Regions from separate parts of the Homo sapiens genome. Here region 2 is linked to region 1. The links are contacts of gene promoters, found by promoter capture Hi-C in blood cells and fetal thymus (Javierre and others, 2016). All regions are on one chromosome and are shown on one strand. The core of a region is centred on a gene start or on the middle of the fragment in contact, and the rest is flanking DNA. Distances in the headings are between cores, read along the strand shown.

Evidence for each region. The method cuts DNA at HindIII sites, captures the fragments that hold promoters and counts their contacts. A CHiCAGO score of 5 or more calls a contact.
Region 2: a contact is called between a fragment that was not itself captured here and the fragment with the promoter of SPEF2 in region 1, in 2 of 17 cell types (naive CD8 T cells and total CD4 T cells). The highest score is 6.0, in naive CD8 T cells.

Annotation. Positions count from the first base shown.
Region 1 is chr5:35,616,580-35,619,283 of GRCh38, forward strand. SPEF2 (sperm flagellar 2) reads left to right here and starts at 1,284. Exons shown (of 37, transcript NM_024867.4): 1 at 1,284-1,476. The coding sequence starts at 1,419. RefSeq lists an enhancer at 1,327-2,134. The HindIII fragment of the contact is 5,837 bases long and covers 1-2,704 here.
Region 2 is chr5:35,863,561-35,866,671 of GRCh38, forward strand. All of the region lies in intron 2 of IL7R (interleukin 7 receptor), which reads left to right. Among named protein-coding and RNA genes, the nearest start is that of IL7R, 8.2 kb to the left of the region's middle. The HindIII fragment of the contact is 4,637 bases long and covers 1-3,111 here.

The DNA of each region.
Region 1 (2,704 bases), core at 34-2,533:
CCATAAAATCCAGCAGTTCCACTACAGTGTATCTATCCAAAGGAAAAGAAGTCAGTATATCAAAGGGATACCTGCACTCACATGTTTATCACAGAACTATTCAAAATAGCCAAGATATGGAATAAATCTAAGTGTCCATCAGCGAACAAATGGAAAAAGAAAGAATGGTATATATACATAACGGAATACCATTTGTCCATGGAAAAGAATGAAAACAGGTCATTTGCAGCAACATGGATGAACTGGAGGCCATTATGTTCAATGAAATAGGCCAGGCAACAGAAAGACAAATACTGCATGTTTTACTCATATGTGGTAGCTAAAAAAGTTGATCCCCTGGAGATAGAGAACAAAATTATGAGTACCAGAGACTGGAAAGGATGTGAGGGTGGGAAGGGGAAATGAAGAGAGGTTGGTGAATGGGTACAAACTTATAGTTAGATGGAAGAAATAGGGTCTAATGTTAGCTAGCAACTGGGGTGACTATAGTTAGCAATGATACATTGTATATTTCAAAATAGCTAGAAGAGAAGATTTGAAATGTTACCAACGTATATAAATGATAAATACTCAAGGTGATGGATACCCCAAATACCCTTCTTCTTTTTCTTCCTCTTCTTTTTTCTTCTTCTTCCTCTTCTTTGATCTCTCCTTGTTCTCCTCCTTCTCCTTGTTCTCCTTCTTCTCCTTCTCTTTCTTCTTTTCCTCCTGTTCTTCCTCTTCTCCTCCTCCTCTTCCTCTCCCTCTCCTTCTCCTTCTTGTTATTCTTTCTTCTTTCTTCTTCTTTTTTGAGACAGAGTCTCATTTTGTTGCCCAGGCTGGAGTGCAGTGGCTCGATCTCGGTTCACTGTAAACTCCGCCTCCTGGGTTGATCCTTCCACGTCAGCATCCTGAGCTGGTGGGACCACAGGCGCACGCCACCACGGCCGCCTAATTTCTTACAGAAAAAAAAACGGTTTCTGCTACCTTGCCCAGGCTGGTCTTGAACTCCCAGGCTCAGTCGAGCGCCACCCCCTCCACAAAGTGGTAGGATTATTTGCGTGAGCCACGGAGCCCTGCGGAGACTCTGGTTTTACTTTCTGCTCACCTAAGAAGCTCCTGCTGTGTCCCTAAGTGTTCCCGCCTCGCCTCTCCCCACACCCACTGCTCCCTAACTTCTCTCACAGGCCCCCAACGGCTTCCTCCTGCGCTGGCGCACGCTCAGGTCTTACCCGCCAGCAGGTGGCGAAACACGATTTTCTGTCCTCTGCGGCTGAGCCCTAGCGTCCCCTCTTCTCTAAGGCCTTTCGCCTAGTTCCAGCCTGGATACGCTTCCATAGCAAAGGGTTGCCCTTGGCTACAGGAGGACGCGGGCTGGCAGGCTTGGTTCCTGGCGAGTTTCTAAGCCCCCGCCTGCGGTCTGAGGCACCGGCTGAACCATGTCGGAGATCCTGTGCCAGTGGCTCAACAAGGAGTTGAAGGTGTCCCGGACCGTGAGTGAGTGACCACGGCCAGGGGCGAGCGTCTGAGGGGCTAGCGGGGCGCAGAGCCTGCAGCGCAGCGCAGCGCACTCAGGGAAGGTGGCGGGCAGGGCGCGAGCTGCACAGGTGGGGCACCTGCGTAGCCGGCAGCATCCCACAGTGAGCAACTCGGCTCGGCGGTGCCCCAGGTCCGTCCCGCCACCTCCCTACAGCTCACCCCAGCCAGGGCAAGGCCTTGTCACGTCCCCACTCTGCCGCTCTCGAGTTACCCTTGTCACGGTGGGCCCAACCCGCAGGCATTCTGACTTTGTGATGTGGTTCTAGGCAATCAGAGGGTTTAGGAAGGTCTCCTTTGCTTCTGTGGAGAGGGAACTTTGCTGGACTTTGTAGTCTGACCCCAACGATGCCTCCTTCACATCACCAGAAGCAGAAGCATGGTGTGGTGGCTAGTCGATGAAATATGAAGCCACTGGACAAGTTACAATACCTTCTCTGAATGTGTTTCCTTCTCTATAAAATGGACCTAATAATGCTTTCCATACTTAACTGACCAGCAGGGGAGGGTGGGTGAAAAATAAGTTAATGTAGAATATGTTAACATTTACAAATTTTAGTAAATTTTAAGCCCCAAATCACAAACTAGCTATTTCTGGTCACTATTGGCTCTTGCCCAAAGCTGACCTTATTCACCAACCTAATTTTATCCTAACCATGCAGTTGCCACCCAAAGTTTCCAAGTCTGACAACCACAGAGACAATTTTACATGCTGGCAGCTTCCTTGACTGCCCTGTAATTCTTCAGGAGTTCATTTTTCAGTTGGTTTTGTTTGTCTTTTTTTCTTTTTTTGCTTAAGGGAAGAGGTTTTCAGGGCAAGTCATTTCAGTCCATTTTCCCAGAAGAACTTGCTTAACACCAGCTTGCTACCAGAGAGGCAGTGGTGCCAGTTCAACCTTAGCTTATCTACAGAAGTTGCTAGATCGGTAGTGTTTCTGTGGGTGCAAAGTAGTTATTAATACTCTCAGCATGAGGATCTTTAGCACGGAGCATCTCCTGTTGCATTTCTTGAGGCATAAACCTCAGACTCTTTCTTTGTCAAATAACCATCTACACACTCCCTGTGAACTGCAATAAATTCTTTCCTGGTATTCTACGATTATCCCATTGTGTCTCCAACTGTTTATTTGCTAAAATATGATGGACTGAGGACAATATTTAGCATTTATTGTTTCTTATTCCTGTCTCA
Region 2 (3,111 bases), core at 490-2,989, 250 kb after region 1:
GATTTAAACAAAATTACATCGGTTAATGGAAAGAATTCTTTCATATACGCAAACTTACCCAGAGGAACTTTTCTTCTGCCCAGATCTTCACTTCCAATTTGACCCAGTTATACCTCTTTAGAGCTATTTGGCTGAGCTTAAACAGCACATAGGAAAAACAAATTGGTAACTGTGTTTATCACAGAAGAGGAAAATTAAATTTAGGGTTGGGAAAGGAAAATAACCCTATGATATTACTTTTATTCTACCTTTACAATGAGAATATATACCTTTGTTACTTCTTTAATTTTTACATTATTTACTTATTTTTCTTTGCTTTCTTGTTTGATTACAATGCATTTTAGGGGTAAAATTTATGTGTGGTAAAATGCACAAAAATTAAGTGAATTTGGAGAAATGTCTATGACCTGTAGCCATTCCAATGGTAAAGATATAGAACTTATTTTTCCCCTAGAAGGATGCTTCATGTTCCTTTCCAGTCAATCTTCATACCCCAGGAGCAATCATAATTCTCAATTCTATTACCCTTTGGTTTTTGCCAGTTTCTGATAGTTCTTATTAATAGAATACTCTTTATTCTTTTCTGTCTTCTTTCATTTAACCAGTGTTTGTGAGAGTTAGCCATGTTGATGTCCATCTCATAGCTCATCTTTTCAATTGCTAAGTAGTAATTCCACTGTATGAATATACCACAAATTTTTAATTCTTTCTCTTCTTGATGAACATTTGTGTTTTTTCAAGTTTGAGACTATTATTTTTTAGGTTGCTGTTCACATTCTTGGACAAATCAGTTTGTGTATATATATTTTCATTTTTCTGGGGTATAAAACCTCAGAATGGAATTGCTGTGTCATAAGGTAAGCATGTATCTAAGTTTATAAGAAACCGCCCAACAGTTTTTCAAAGTGGTTATACCATTCTACTCTCCTTCCAGCGATGCATGAGAGATATACATCATTTGCAACGTTTGACTTTGGGATAGTATCTCGTTAGGTTTTTAATTCGCATTTGTCAAATAACAAATGTTGAGCAGCTTTTCATATACTTGGTCTTTTGCCTGTCTTCTTTGGGCTAGTATCTGTTAAAAGCACTGAGTTATTTGTCCTTTTGTTATTGCTGGATATGAGTTCTTTATACATTCTGTATACATTTCCTTTGTCAGATAGATGTATTGCATCTATTTTCTATTCTGAAGTTTGCCATTTTATTTTCTTACTGGTGCGTTTTAATAAGCAAGAGTTTTTTTTTATTTTGATGGAGTCTAATATATCATTTATTTTCTTTTATATGTAGTGCTTTTTGTATCCTTGCTAAGATAACTTTGCCTACTCCCAAAGTTGGGAAGATATTTTCTCATGTTTTCTTTTAAATGTTCTACAGTTTTAGCCTTTATATTTAGTTTTTTTAATTATTATTATACTTTAAGTTCTAGGGTACATGTGCACAACGTGTAGGTTTGTTACATATGTATACATGTGCCATGTTGGTGTGCTGCACCGATTAACTCGTCATTTACATTAGGTATATCTCCTAATGCTATCCCTCCCCCCTCCTTCCACCTATGACTGGCCCTGGTGTGTGATGTTCCCCTTCCTGTGTCCAAGTGCTCTTATCGTTCAATTCCCATCTATGAGTGAGAACATGCAGTGTTTGATTTTTTGTCCTTGTGATAGTTTGCTGAGAATGATGGTTTCCAGCTTCATCCATGTCCCTATAAAGGACATGAACTCATCCTTTTTTATGGCTGCATAGTATTCCATGGTGTATATGTGCCACATTTTCTTAATCCAGTCTATCATTGATGGACATTTGGCTTGGTTCCAAGTCTTTGCTATTGTGAATAGTGCTGCAATAATCGTACATGTGCATGTGTCTTTATAGCAGCATGATTTATACTCCTTTGGGTATATACCCAGTAATGGGATGGCTGGGTCAAATAGTATTTCTAGCTCTGGATCCTTGAGGACTCGCCACACTGTCTTCCACAATGGTTGAACTAGTTTACAGTCCCACCAACAGTGTAAAAGTGTTCCTATTTCTCCACATTCCCTCCAGCACCTTTTGTTTCCTGACTTTTTAATGATCACCATTCTAACTGGTGTGAGATGGTATGTCATTGTGGTTTTGATTTGCATTTCTCTGATGGCCATTGATGGCTAATATCCAGAATCTACAATGAACTCAAACAAATTTACAAGAAAAAAACAAACAACCCCATCAAAAAGTGGGCAAAGGATATGAACAGACACTTCTCAAAAGAAGACATTTATGCAGCCAAAAGACACATGAAAAAATGCTCATCATCAATGGCCATCAGAGAAACGCAAATCAAATTGTGTTTATTTGTTTCTCTTGTCTTATGCATTGGCTAAAACCTCCTGTACACCACTGAATAGAAATGGTGAAAGTGGATATTCCTGTCGTGTCCTGGTCTTAGGGAAACAATTCATGTTCACAATTTCAGCACTAAATATGATATTAACTATAGGCTTTTGTAAATGCTCTTTATCAGATTGAGGAAGTGTCTTTCTATTTCTTATTTGCTGTGAGTTTTTAACATGAATAGATGCATTCATGTTATTAAATTATGCTTTGAATGCATTGATTGATTATAACCAGGTTATTTATGTCTTCTAGTCTGTTAACATGGCAAATTATATTGATTAATTTTTGAATCTTTAACCTGCTTTGGTTTCCTGAGATGTGCCCTACTTTATAATTATGTATTAAAATTAGTGTGTTAGTATTTTCTTGTGAAAGTTTGCTTATACATTTTTGAGGGATATTTGTCTATCAACTTCTTTTCTCTAATATTTTGGCCAGGTTTGGGTACCAGGATTAAGCTAGCTTCAAAAAATAGGTTGAGAAGGGTCATTCCTCTTCCAGTTTCTAAAATAATTTGTGTCAGATTGACACTATTTCTTTCCTTATACATTTGATAGAATTTACCAGAATATAACCATCAAGCATAGAGTTTTCTTTGGGGGGAAGTTTATTGATAATAAGTTTAATTTCTTTGAGAGAAATATAACTGTTGAAATATTCCATTTCTATGTGGGTCAGATTTACTAATTTGTGTTTATAAAAACATTTTCATTACATCTAAGTTAT